Linked DNA regions of Homo sapiens: regions 2, 3, 4 and 5 are each linked to region 1. Evidence: promoter capture Hi-C in human tissues and cell types (Jung and others, 2019). All regions are on one chromosome and are shown on one strand. Each heading gives the region's core, a stretch centred on a gene start or on the middle of the fragment in contact. The rest is flanking DNA. Distances are from core to core; before and after follow the strand shown. Region 1 holds the start of PDILT (protein disulfide isomerase like, testis expressed). Region 2 has its middle 47 kb from the start of GPRC5B. Region 3 has its middle 71 kb from the start of GPRC5B. Region 4 has its middle 79 kb from the start of GPR139. Region 5 has its middle 61 kb from the start of GPR139.

Region 1 (2,515 bases), core at 7-2,506:
CACGCCTGTAATCCCAGCACTTTGGGAGGCCGAGGCAGGCAGATCATTTGAGGTCAGGAGTTTGAGACCGACCTGGCCAATGTGGTGAAACCCCGTCTCTACTAAAAATACAAAAATTAGCCAGACGTGGTGGTGCATGCCTGTAGTCCCAGCTACTCAGGAGGCTGAGGCAGGAGAACCGCTTGAACCCTGGAGGTGAAGGCTACAGTGAGTGGAGATCGCGCCACTACACTGTCTCAAAGAAAAAGAAAAGAAAGAGAAGAGCAAAGCGCTAGGACTAAAACCCACAGATGTTAAAATTTAGTGAAATGAATGTTAGTCATCTCCATCAGTATTTAATAACAGTTGGGCAGCAGATAGCCAAAGGCTGCAAACTCTGACAGTAATAACGATGCTAATAATATCAACAGCCTTTTCTTTATTCATTCAACAAATATTTACTGAGCACCTATCACCAGGTAAGCAAAGTAAATTATGTGGAGTTTAGAAGAAAATTAATGCTATGAAGGAAAATAAAGCCTGGAAGGAGGATGAGGAACGCCTGAGAGGGGGATGGGGCACTTACAAATTTAAACAAAGTGGCCAGGAAAGGCCCAACTGTGGAAGTGACATTTGGGCAAAGACTGGAACGAGCTAAGGGGTGAACCCTGAGTCCACCTGGGTGAAGAGCCTCCCTAACAGGGGAAACCACAAGTGTAGAGGCCCAGACATTGTATTGGAGGACTGGCAGGGACACCAGTGTGGCTGGAGCAGGGTGAGTGGAGATCTTTCTCCCCTAGGAGATGAGGCCAGGGTGGTGATGCGTGAGGGGCTCCTGCCTTCTAGGTACTGAGCTGCTCGTTTTGCATAAATCCTCTTATTTTATCCCATCCCCCTCTCAGGCGTTCCTCATCATCCTTCCAGGTTTTATTTTTCTTCATATCATTAATTATCTTCTAAATTCCACATAATTTACTTTGCTTACAACACCCCCATGAGTTAGATGCCATGTAACAGGCATGGAAACTGAACCTCAGAAAGAGTAAGTGACATTCTCAAGGCCATACAGCTGTTCAAGACAGAGCTGGGATTCAAATTCCAATCTATAGGCACTGAGTTCAGAGCCCTCCTGGGCCATACCCAGCACCCCACACTGAGTTTTGTTTCTAGCCCCTCAAGCAAACTCAGCAAGGGCTGCCAGGCAGGGCCCCCTCTTACTCAACAATGGCCCATTCTTCTACAGGGTCACCCCTGGTCCTCTAGAACCCCAGAACTCAGAACTTTGCTGCTGAGGCTGCTGTGGCCTCTGTGTGCCCAGGAAGGGACTTCATTTCTGCCTGTGGATTCTTTAGAATGCCCAGTCGTCTGCGGGTCCTGCCCTGATCACAAGGAGAAGCCAGGAGCCTCCTCTTCAGGCTACAACCTTCCTTCTTAAGGGCCACAGAGTTTGTGGCCCCACCCCCAGCACAGCCCCACCTTGGCCCCAGGAACCCTGGGAGTGGCCTTGGCTTCCTGCAGGTATGAGCTTCAGTGAAAATGGGAAATCTGACTGATGGGCCCTGCCTTGGGAGGCTTTTCTCTACCAGGAGTCACCAGTTTAAGTTTTAAGTGTCAGTTTTGGTGTATAGATGGCTACACATTAGGATCAACTTGAGGATTTTAAAAAATAATAATAATGCCCAGACTCACCCAACCCCAGATCAATTAAATTAGAACCTACTGGGTTTGGGTTTGAACATCAGTATTTTTTATTAAACTCTCCAAGAGATTCTCAGCATAGTCATGGTTGAGAACCACTGAAATGAACCAATGGGGTTTGCTGTAAGAGTTAAATTAGGCCATTCATTCATTCATTCAACAAACATTCATTGAGTTCCAAATCTGGTACAGGCACTGTTCTGAAGGGGAGAAAACAGCTGTGAACAATGGTATTTACATTAAAAAGTTCAAAATGACAACAACAACAAAGTACACTCATAAATAATAATACAAAATATGATGCAAACAATGGTGATATGGCAGAGAGTGCTGAAAGCTGAGATGGGGTGAGACAGAGTGGCCCGGGAAGACCCTTCTGATGAGCGTGGATTCGAGCTAGGACCCAGAGAACCAGAAAAGGCTGACGATGTGAGGGAAGGGTGCCCCAGACAGAGGCAAAGGCCCCGGGTAGGGTGTGCTTGGGAAAGGGAAGAGGCCAGTGTGGCTCCCCAGAGTGCGGGAGGAGAGAGAGAGAGGAGGGCGATAAGGTCAGATGGGTCCAGAGCCAGTGGGGCCTGGTAGACCACAGAGAACAGTTTGGCTGGTGTGCGGTTTTGCGAATGGATTGTAAAAAAAAAAGAGGCAGAAGCTTTTTTTTGCACAAAAGTGAGCACCTTTTGATAGGCACAGTGGTGTGATGGAATTCCTGTGTCGAAAGGAAATCTCTGCTGGGCACGGTGGCTCACGCCTGCAATCTCAGCACTTTGGGAGGCCCAGGCAGGTGGATCACCTGAGGTCAGGAGTTTGAGACCAGCCTGGCCAACATGGTGAAATCCCG
Region 2 (2,515 bases), core at 6-2,505, 470 kb after region 1:
GTCTCCAGACATGGCCAAAATGTCCCCTTGGGTGGACATTTCCAGTCGAGAACCACTGCTATATAAAGAACAATAGGTGGGAGGTAGGAGGCTTGGGGTCTAGGCACGGCTCCACCCTCATTGCTGGACACTCCTTGGTAAGTTTCTTGATCCCTTTGGGCCTTGCTTTTCTTATTCATTACATGGAGATGACACCTACCCTACCTCCTGGAGCTGTTACAAGAGTCAAACCTATCAAAGGATACAAAAGGTACCATAGAAAGCTCTGAGATCTCCCAGTCCCACCCCCACAAATCCTGTCCATATTCTCCTGGGTCAGGAAACCCAGCTTCGAAGAAATGAATGGAGAAAAGGAACAAGAAAAGAAAACTAACATGAATGGTTACCATGGCCAAACATGTTACATTCATTCTTTCCTTTGGTGATCACCACACTACCAGGCTAGTTGCTGTCATTCCCATTTTACAGGTAATGCAACTGAGGCCTAAAAGGGTTTGAAAATGAGCAAGCCAGGCGGGCACGGTGGCACTTTGGGAGACCGAGGTGGGTGGATCACTTGAGGTCAGGAGTTAGAGACCAGCCTGACCAACATGGTGTAACCCTATCTCTACTGAAAATAGAAAAATTAGCCGGGCGTGGTCGTGCACACCTGTAATCCCAGGAGGCTGAGGCAGGAGGATTGCTTGAATCCAGGAGGGAGAGATTGCAGTGAGCCGAGATCATGCCACTGCACTCCAGTCTGGGCAAGAGAGTGAGACTCCGTCTCAAAAAAAAAAAAAAAAAAAACTAACAACAATTAGCCAAACATGGTGGCAGGCACCTGTAATGCCAGCTACTCAGGAGGTTGAGGCAGGAGAATCGCTGGTACCCGTGAGGCGGAGGTTGCAGTGAGCCGAGATAGTGCCACTGCACTCCAGCCTGGGTGACAGAGACTCCATCTCAAAAAAAAAAAGAAAATGAGCAAGCCCAGACTGCCTCCAAGGCATATGTGGGTTCTCCTGATTCCTGCAGAAATAATCCACTTCGGAGGGGTGGAAGCAGCAAGTTACGGGGCACCCACTTGTTCTAGGCATTATGATAGTGAGAGTGAGAATATTATTCCCCTTGTGTAGATGAGAAAATTGAAGCAGAGAGAGGTTGAGTAACTTACCCAAAGTGACTTGGACAGATTTGTACCCAGTTTAGATTCTGCCTTTTCCGTAACCCCCCACACCAGAGTGACATTTAAACTCAACAGATGCTTCACAGAGAATCTCTTCCCTATGCCAAGGTGAAAGTCACACAAAGGTCATAAGCACCTTTATCTGTGACCACACAAACTATCTCCTGCTGTACCCCTCCCCACATGCATGCGCACACATGACCCTACATGAAGCCAAACCTCCCCAGGTCAGGGAAGACACCCCAGACCTCCTCCAACTGTGCTCAGAGTTGATCACACACCTTTGGTTGAGCTTCATAAGTCACCACAGTGGCTACCGGGCTAGATTTGTCAGACAGCTCCCTATAAACACTCACAGACAGCAAGGCAAGGCATCTCAGTGTTCCCAGCTGGCATTTCCAGAGGGCTCTCTGCCCCGGGCGCTCACTGTGCATTCCTCTCAAAACCCCACTCAGCTCTTGCTCCCTTCCCCATTTCTTATGATGGATGAAACAGACCACAAGTGAATCCCAGAAGCTGAAGTCAACCTCTCATTCAGCAAACAGTTACACCCAACCGACCCAGCATGGGTACTAAGACCTCAGAAATGAAAAAGACACAGGCCCCTGTGCCTCAGTTTCTCTCTATGAAAGTAGGACCAAGTGCAGTGGCTCGCACTTTAATCCCAGCGCTTTGGGAGGCTGAGGCAGGAGGACCACTTGAGTCCAGGAGTTTGAGACCAGCCTGGGCAACAGAGCAAGACCTCATCTCTACAAAAAAAAAAAATAATAATAATTAGCTGGGTGTGGTAGCATTTGCTATATTCCTAGCTACTCACAAGGCTGAGGCAGTAGTAGCTCTTGGGCCCAGGAGGTAGAGGCTGCAGTGAGCTCTGATAGCCCCACTGCACTCCAACCTGGGTGACAGAGCGAGATTCTGTCTTAAAAAAAAAAGAAAAAAGAAAGAAAGAAAGAAAGAAAAGAAAATGGGGCTAGTGAGAGCACCTACCTCATAGAGTCACAGTGAAGATTAAATGAGATAATGCACTTAACAAAATGTCCTGCACACAGTAGGTACTCAATAAACTGAAGTTCTGGCGTACAACCTTAAAGGTTTGCACCGTTTATACTCTTTCGCAGGGTCCCACCAAGGGCTAAAGGCACACATGAGCTGCGGAGCTGAGGTCGTGACTGTGGGACTTCGGCAAATCCTGTCACCTCTTCAAAAAGGGCTCTTACCAGGTTCAAATGCAGTAATACATACCAAATGCATCGCCCAGGGCTTGGCACTAGTCGTTGTTTTATGACTGTTGCTATCACTTTTGACTAACATGTATTAGGTACTGTTCCAAGCACTTCATGTGTACTAACCCAT
Region 3 (2,515 bases), core at 11-2,510, 450 kb after region 1:
CAATCAAGTCAAAAAAAGATTAGAGTATGATTTTGAAAAGTTAATCAAATATCAAAGGTTTAAAACACTTTTCATCACAAAATAGAACCACAGTTTATTTTAGTCAAAGTGATTAACTCAAATATTTCAAAAAAGCAAAACTCCATTAGTCTTTTATAGAGAGGAGACAGCTTTCCAAACAACAAAAACCAAAAAAGACAGCATGAAGCCAGCTGAATCTGTCTCTTCTCTCTCCCTTTTTCCTGCAGGCAAATGAAAATCTTGCTTAAAAGGGAAAACCATATGCTACCTCTGCATTAGTGTATTAATGCTAAAGTTCATTTTAATAAAATTTTATAAGGAAATCTATCGAATTGTAACCCATTTGACCATAAGGTAAGAATTTTATAAACCTTTTATAACCCTTTATAATTTTTTGTTAAAGAACAGATCAATACTCCAAGAAAACCCTGTTGTTCTGACACATGGGCCCAAATTCTGGCCCTGCATCAATATGATTTTATTTTAATGTGTAATTTATGGGAAAACTAAATAATAATCTTAATTTTAGCCAACTTGCTCACACACAGAATTTTCTTAATAATATTAATTTGTCACAAACCTTCTTCAACTTGCTTAAACCATCAGTTTTATTCTACCTTTCTTTTAACCTAAGACAAGCTTTAAACCTGCAAACCCTGAAAATCTCAGACAGGTCTCAGTTAATTTAGAAAGTTTATTTAGCCAAGGTTGAGGACAGACGCCCGAGATACAGCCTCAGGAGGTCTTGATAACATGTGCCCAAGGTGGTCAAGGCACAGCTTGGTTTTTTACTTTTAGGGAGATATGAGGCATCAATCAATACATGTAAGATGTACTATACGTTGGTTCCCTCTGGAAAAATGGGATAACTCAAGCAGGGAGGGGGCTTCCAGGTCACAGGTAGGTGAGAGACAAATGGGTTGCATTCTTTTTTTTCTTCTGCTTTTTTAAATTATTATTTGTTTTATTATTATACTTTAACTTCTGAGATACCTGTGCAGAACATACAGGTTTATTACATAGGTATACACGTGCCATGGTGGTTTGCTGCACCCATCAACCCATCATCTACATTAGTTATTTCTGCTAATGCTATCCCTCCCCTAGTCCCCCACCCCCTGACAGGCCCCAGTGTGTGATGTTCCCCTCCCTCTGTCCATGTGTTCTCATTTTTCAACTCCCACTTACGAGTGAGAACATGCGATGTTTGGTTTTCTGTTCTTGTGTTAGTTTGCTGAGAATGATGGTTTCCAGCTTCATCCATGTCCCTGCAAAGGACATGAACTCATCCTTTTTTATGGCTGCATAGTATTCCATGGTGTATATGTGCCACTTTTTCTTTATGCAGCCTGTCATTGATGGGCATTTGGGTTGGTTCCAAGTCTTTGCTATTGTGAACAGTGCTGCAATAAACATACGTGTGCATGTGTCTTTATAGCAGCATGATTTATAATCCTTTAGGTATATACATAGTAATGGGATTGCTGGGTCAAATGGTATTTCTGGTTCTAGATCCTTGAGGAATTGCCACACTGTCTTCCACAATGGTTGAACTAATTTACATTCCCACCAACAGTGTAAAAGCATTCCTATTTCTCCACATCCTCTCCAGCACCTGTTGTTTCCTGACTTTTTAATGATTGCCATTCTAACTGGTGTGAGATGGTATCTCATTGTGGTTTTGATTTGCATTTCTCTAACGACCAGTGATGATGAGCTTTTTTCATATGTTTGTTGGCTGCATAAATATCTTCTTTTGCAAAATGTCTGTTCATATCCTTTGCCCACTTTTTGATGGGGTTGTTTGTTTTTTTCTTGTAAATTTGTTTAAGTTCTTTGTAGATTCTGGATATTAGCCCTTTGTCAGATGGATAGATGGTGAAAATTTTCTCCCATTCTGTCGGTTGCCTGTTCACTCTGATGGTAGTTTCTTTTGCTGTGCAGAAGCTCTTTAATTAAATTAGGTCCCATTTGTCAATTTTGGCTTCTGTTGCCATTGCTTTTGGTGTTTTAGTCATGAAGCCTTTGCCCATGCCTATGTCCTGAATGGTATCTTTTGAGTTTCTGATTAGCCTTTCCAAGGGAGGCAAACAGATGCGCATTTATCTCAGTGAGCAGAGGAATGACTTTGGATAGAATGGAAAGCAGGTTTGCCTTAAGCAGTTCCCAGCTTGACTTTTCCCTTTAGCGTAGTGATTTTGGGGCCCCAAGATTTCCAAGATTTATTTTCCTTTTACAAACCCTTTAAATTAGACAAATTACTTTTTCTTAAAATCCACATTCCCATGCCTTTTTACCAAAAACATATAATTTTTATTTTTAGCATAAGCAAGTATAATTATGTATCAGGTGCAGAGTCTAGGACATAGGACAGAACTGCAGATAATGTCTTAACTCTTTCTAGCATAGCTAGGGCTCATGGCTAACACCATATGTACCCAAACCTCACCAAGAATCTATTACTTTTTTTTTTTTTTTTTTGAGACAGAGTCTC
Region 4 (2,515 bases), core at 5-2,504, 410 kb after region 1:
CTACCCAGCCATAAAAAAGAATGAAATCATGTCCTTTGTGGCAACATGGATGCAGCTGGAGGCCATTATCCAAAGCCAATTAACACGGGAACAGAAAAGCAAATACCACACGTTCTCACTTATATGTGGGAGCTAAACATTGAGTACACGTGGACACAAAGAAGGGAACAATAGACGCTGAGAAACACAAGAGAGGTGGGCATGGGTTGAAACGCTATGTATTGGGTCCTGTGCTCACCCCCTGGGTGGCGGGATCTGTACTGTAAATCTCAGTATCACGCAATATACCCATGTAACAAACCTGTAAATGCAACCCCAAATCTAAAAGTTGAAATTATTTTCTCAAAAGACTCTTGATTTTATTCTGAAAGTTATGAAGAGCCATTGAAGTATTTTAAAGCAGGAAAGTCAAGATCAAAGTTACATTTTTAAAAGATCATGCTGACTGTAGCGTGGAAGATGGATTATAGAGAGGGTCAGAAGAGGGCAAGGAGATGGATGAGGACTGTCCTCTCAGCCACACTTGGGGAAGTTTCCTTTTCGGGGACAACATTTGCCATGTAATTAAAGACAGCAGAGTGGTACCAGGCCTCAAAAATGGGACATGCCAATCCACTGACACCGGGAGCTCTGGAGCCCCTCAAAATGCCAAAGGCCAACTCAGTCCCCAATTTTCCCCAGGATGTGAGAGCCCATGGCTGACTGCCCAGTGGGGAACCTGATTTAGCCCTGGACCATTTCATTTCATGTCCAGAAAGCATCAGGCAGCAGAGATATGTCCTCAGGTTGCCCCATCCTGGCAAGAGGACATCTTGAGCGGCGGCCCATCCATTTCCGCCACCCCCTGAGCTGACACACAAAGAGGCTGTGGCCCTGCAGAGAGCCAAGCCGCGTGGCCGCCGCATTGTGAGTCATCCCAGCTGGTTCCAACTATTTTCCCCAGGAGGCAGAGGAGTCGGACGGAAGTGTGCCCTGGCCAAGCGAGAGACCACCAGCAGGACTGCCAGGGGCTGCCAGCCGTGACCGAAGGGAGGATGGATGCCCACATCTACCCCTCTGACCTTGTGGAAAGGAAGAGAGCAGCAGGAAGGGTCTTGCTCACTTCCGCAAGGCTGAGTGGCCAACGGGTCTGGGTCTGATACAAGATACCACAGAACGGTGACCAGGGCAGGAGCATAAAGCTCAAGGGAGCATCACTGGGGGTTAAGGTTGGCAAATGAAACAGCTAACTACTTACGGAGCCCAGGCTCCAGGCCAGGAGCTGTGCTAAGCACTTCACATCATCATCATCATGTCTGCTAGAATACTTTATAGCTATTATTCCATTTAATCCACTACAACACGGATCAGCTTGTGGCTTGTCTTTGCACAGCCCATGAGCTAAGAATGGTTTTTCATTTTTAAAGAGTTTTAGAAAAAAACAAAGAAAGATAGGTCATAGAAGTCATTTGTGGCCTGTAAAGCCTAAAATATTTACTGTCTAGCTCTTTACAGGAAAAGTATGCCAAAACCCTTGCACTGGTTCAATTAGGACAAGGTATATGTGTGTGCATATGTGTGTGCATGTATGTGTGTGTCTGTTCTACTTCTATATTCCTCAATGCCTAGAAGAGGTCATGATACACCAAAGGTGCTCAATAAATATCAAGTGAATTAATGAATTAATGAGCAAATGAATTAACTTTTATTATCACCCAATGAGATAGATACTATCATCAGCCCCATTTTACTGATGAGGTTACTGAGGCTCACAGTGATAAAATGACTTGCAGAAATCACAGAGGTAACAAACACCGGAGCTGCAATTCAAATTCAGGCAGTTTGTCATTCAAGGCTTGGTTTTTTTAAAAAGCCCATATCCTAAAAACTGAAAATCTGGACTATGTCTCGTGCCGTGACTCTCAAACTTTCCTGCGCGTGACTATCATCTGGGATATTTGTTAAAATTCATGTTCCCAGGCCTTGCCTTCTTGGATTCTGATTCTATAAATCAGAATGAAACCCAGGAGTCTGTGTAGGGGAAGATGAGAGTAAATGAGGTGGCTACCAGGGGTAAGAAGCTTTGGGGAGAAGACTAGGAGGGAACATAAGTGTATTAGCCTGTTCTCATGCTACTAATAAAGACATACCCGAGACTGGGTAATATATAAAGGAAAGAGGTTTAATGGATTCACAGTTCCACGTGGCCGGGGAAGCCTCACAATCATGGCAGAAGACAAAGGAAGAGCAAAGGGATGTTTTACATGGCAGCAGGCAAGAGGACCTGTGCAGGGGAGCTGCCCTTTATAAAACCATCACATCTCATGAGACTTATTCACTATAACAAGAAGAGCATGGGAAAGACCCACCCCCATGATTCAATTACCTCCCACCGGATCCCTCCCACGAGATGTGAGAATTATGGGAGCTACAATTCAAGATAAGACTTGGGAGGGGATGCAGCCAAACCATATCAATAAGTTTCTACTGTGTGCTGTGCAATGTAAACATACCTCTTCATCTCCCTACAGTGTCT
Region 5 (2,515 bases), core at 6-2,505, 390 kb after region 1:
TTAATACAGTCTTTTATAAGAAATAGCACAAGTTAAGTTTCACTTATGTTTGCAAATCAAACAAGGTTAAGGTCACTTATTGAGACCAAACTGGCTTTGTTTGCTCAGGGATTCTTCCCACTTGGTTTTCATTTTAATTTACTTTAACAATAGCTTTCCTTGGCATAACACCAAAAACCAGGGAGGAAAAGGAATGAAAAGACTTACAGACCTAATCATACAAACAGTTTAAACTCCTTCATGATAAAAGACATTGTCAATATATTTAAAGCAAGCATACTGTAAAAAACATGAACACACACACAAAATACTGAGTTCATGCCTGTATTAGCCCATTCTCATGATGCTATGGAGAAATACCCAACAGTGGGTAATTTATAAAGGAAAGAGGTTTAATTGACTCACAGTTCAGCATGGCTGGGGATACCTCAGGCAACTTACAAGCATGGTGGAAGGGGAAGTAAATACGTCCTTATTCACATGGCGGCAGCAAAAAGAAGTGCAAGCAAAAAGGGGGAAAAGCCCCTTATAAATCTACCAGATCTCATGAGAACTCACTATCACAAGAACAGCAAGAGGGAAACTGCCCCCATGATTCAATTACCTCCCACCCGGTCCCTCCCACATACGTGGGGATTATGGGAACTACAATTCAAGATGAGATTTGGGTGTGGACACAGCCAAACCTTATCCATACTCAATCTATAAAGAGTAGTTAAAAAGAAAAAAGAAAAAGAAGAACACCCCTGTAAAAATTTGCAAAGAATTTGAAGAGGCAATTTATAAAATAAGAACCACTAATGATAATAAACATCTGAAAACATATTAAAGCTTATTATTACTTCAAGAGATGCAAAGTAAAACAACATGAGGTTATTCTATCTTGCCAGATGTCACTGACACACAGTGTGAGTGAGAGTGTGGGGAAATGTGTACACTCGTACATACTACTAGTAGTAGTTTAAATTCACATAAACTTTTTAGAAGGGAAGTTAGCAATAGCTATTAATACACCTACCATTTGACTCAGCAATCCTAGTTCTAGGCATTTATCATGTTTTGAATTGTTGACAAACCATACAAATATATTTGAACAAAGGTATTGCAGCCTTGTTTGATAACAGTAAATTACTGGAACTGTTCTAAATGCTCATCAATAAGAAATGTATTAAATAAATTATTGTACCTCCGTAAAATGGAATACTATGAAGCTATTTGAAAATAATGAGTTAGATCTGTATGGACTCATGGCTAAGATATCTACCTTAGATTTTTAAGTGAAAATAGGAGGTATAGTATAATTCCATCTTGTTTTAAAAGAATTTTCACTATCTAAATTGTAAATATCTGATTTAATGAAGGTTTTTCAACGATTATTGCTATGGTTTGGATACCATGGTCAGTTGTAAGCCTCAATGTTGAAGGTGGGGCCTGGTGGGAGGTGATTGGAACTTTCACGAATGGTTTAGCACCATCCCCTTGGTGCTGTTCTCATGGGAGTGAGTGAGTGAGTTAATATGAGATCTGTTTAAGAGCATGTGGCACCTCCCCATTCTCTCTCTTCCTCCTGCTCCCTCCAGCCATGTAAGACATGCCTGCTTCCACTTCATCTTCTGCTGTGATTGTAAGTTTCCTGAGGCCTCCCCAGAAGCAGAAGCCACTGTGCTTCCTATACTGTGAACCGATTAAACCTCTTTTATTTATAAATTACCCAGTCTCAGGTATTTCTTCACAGCAGTGCAAGGATGAACTAATACAATTATACATCAATTTTATTATCAGAAAACAACATTTACACTTCATAAAATAAAACAAAAGGGTTTTCTTATAGGTGATTTATGCATAAGTATGAAAAGGAGGGTATTGAATCCTGGAATAAGTTCACATTACTCAGGAGAATACAAAATATTTTCTTCTGCAAACCTTAAGCCCAGTACTTAGTAGTTGTACTCATTAAATAGTTTGGGGATGAATAGATAAATAAATCAATGGATGGATGTATAGATGGATGGATGGATATTGAGGTCACAAAGGCAGTTTGTTGTTGTTGTTGTTTTAATTAGTGACCTAAATAATCCAAGATTGAAAGTCACTCTGAAGTAGCTGGTCCTCCAAAAATGTCAGGATTATTGGCTACCATGGATTTTGGAGTTTGGTCCTTACGCACAAACACCTGATGAGGGATCCAGATGATGTGGACAGACAAGGCTTACAAGAGCTCTGCTTAGCTTAAGACAAAACTCTCCCATACATGGGTTCCAAATAACCCCTAAGTGATGATCCCAGAACTAGCCTTCTGTGATTTATTCCTGTAGACATGAAGGAAATGAAGAAATGAATCAAGGAGACAGAAGGAGACCTTATGATATGAGAGATCATGCCTGGGGAAGCAACATTGTTTTTGGAAGATTAACTTTTCTTTTTGGTTTACACATATGCTGCTAGAGTTATAAAAGGAACTAACTGATGCCAATAGTATCCCCAAGTCCAGAAAAGGCTAAACTGTGTAACAAAT

Evidence for each region. Contacts are between HindIII fragments. The study calls those that stand out against the background at their distance.
Region 2: a contact is called between a fragment that was not itself captured here and the fragment with the promoter of PDILT in region 1, in 3 of the 25 tissues and cell types used here (heart right ventricle, mesendoderm cells and thymus).
Region 3: a fragment that was not itself captured here is called in contact with the fragment with the promoter of PDILT in region 1 in 2 of the 25 tissues and cell types used here (dorsolateral prefrontal cortex and lymphoblastoid cells).
Region 4: a contact is called between a fragment that was not itself captured here and the fragment with the promoter of PDILT in region 1, in 1 of the 25 tissues and cell types used here (mesendoderm cells).
Region 5: a contact is called between a fragment that was not itself captured here and the fragment with the promoter of PDILT in region 1, in 2 of the 25 tissues and cell types used here (lymphoblastoid cells and mesendoderm cells).

Annotation. Positions count from the first base shown.
Region 1 is chr16:20,403,478-20,405,992 of GRCh38, reverse strand. It overlaps PDILT (protein disulfide isomerase like, testis expressed), which reads left to right and starts at 1,256. Exons shown (of 12, transcript NM_174924.2): 1 at 1,256-1,497. The HindIII fragment of the contact is 3,912 bases long and covers 1-2,515 here.
Region 2 is chr16:19,930,670-19,933,184 of GRCh38, reverse strand. No RefSeq gene overlaps it. Among named protein-coding and RNA genes, the nearest start is that of GPRC5B, 47 kb to the right of the region's middle. The HindIII fragment of the contact is 4,266 bases long and covers 1-2,515 here.
Region 3 is chr16:19,954,889-19,957,403 of GRCh38, reverse strand. No RefSeq gene overlaps it. Among named protein-coding and RNA genes, the nearest start is that of GPRC5B, 71 kb to the right of the region's middle. The HindIII fragment of the contact is 3,423 bases long and covers 1-2,515 here.
Region 4 is chr16:19,993,367-19,995,881 of GRCh38, reverse strand. No RefSeq gene overlaps it. Among named protein-coding and RNA genes, the nearest start is that of GPR139, 79 kb to the left of the region's middle. The HindIII fragment of the contact is 6,383 bases long and covers 1-2,515 here.
Region 5 is chr16:20,011,821-20,014,335 of GRCh38, reverse strand. No RefSeq gene overlaps it. Among named protein-coding and RNA genes, the nearest start is that of GPR139, 61 kb to the left of the region's middle. The HindIII fragment of the contact is 3,127 bases long and covers 1-2,515 here.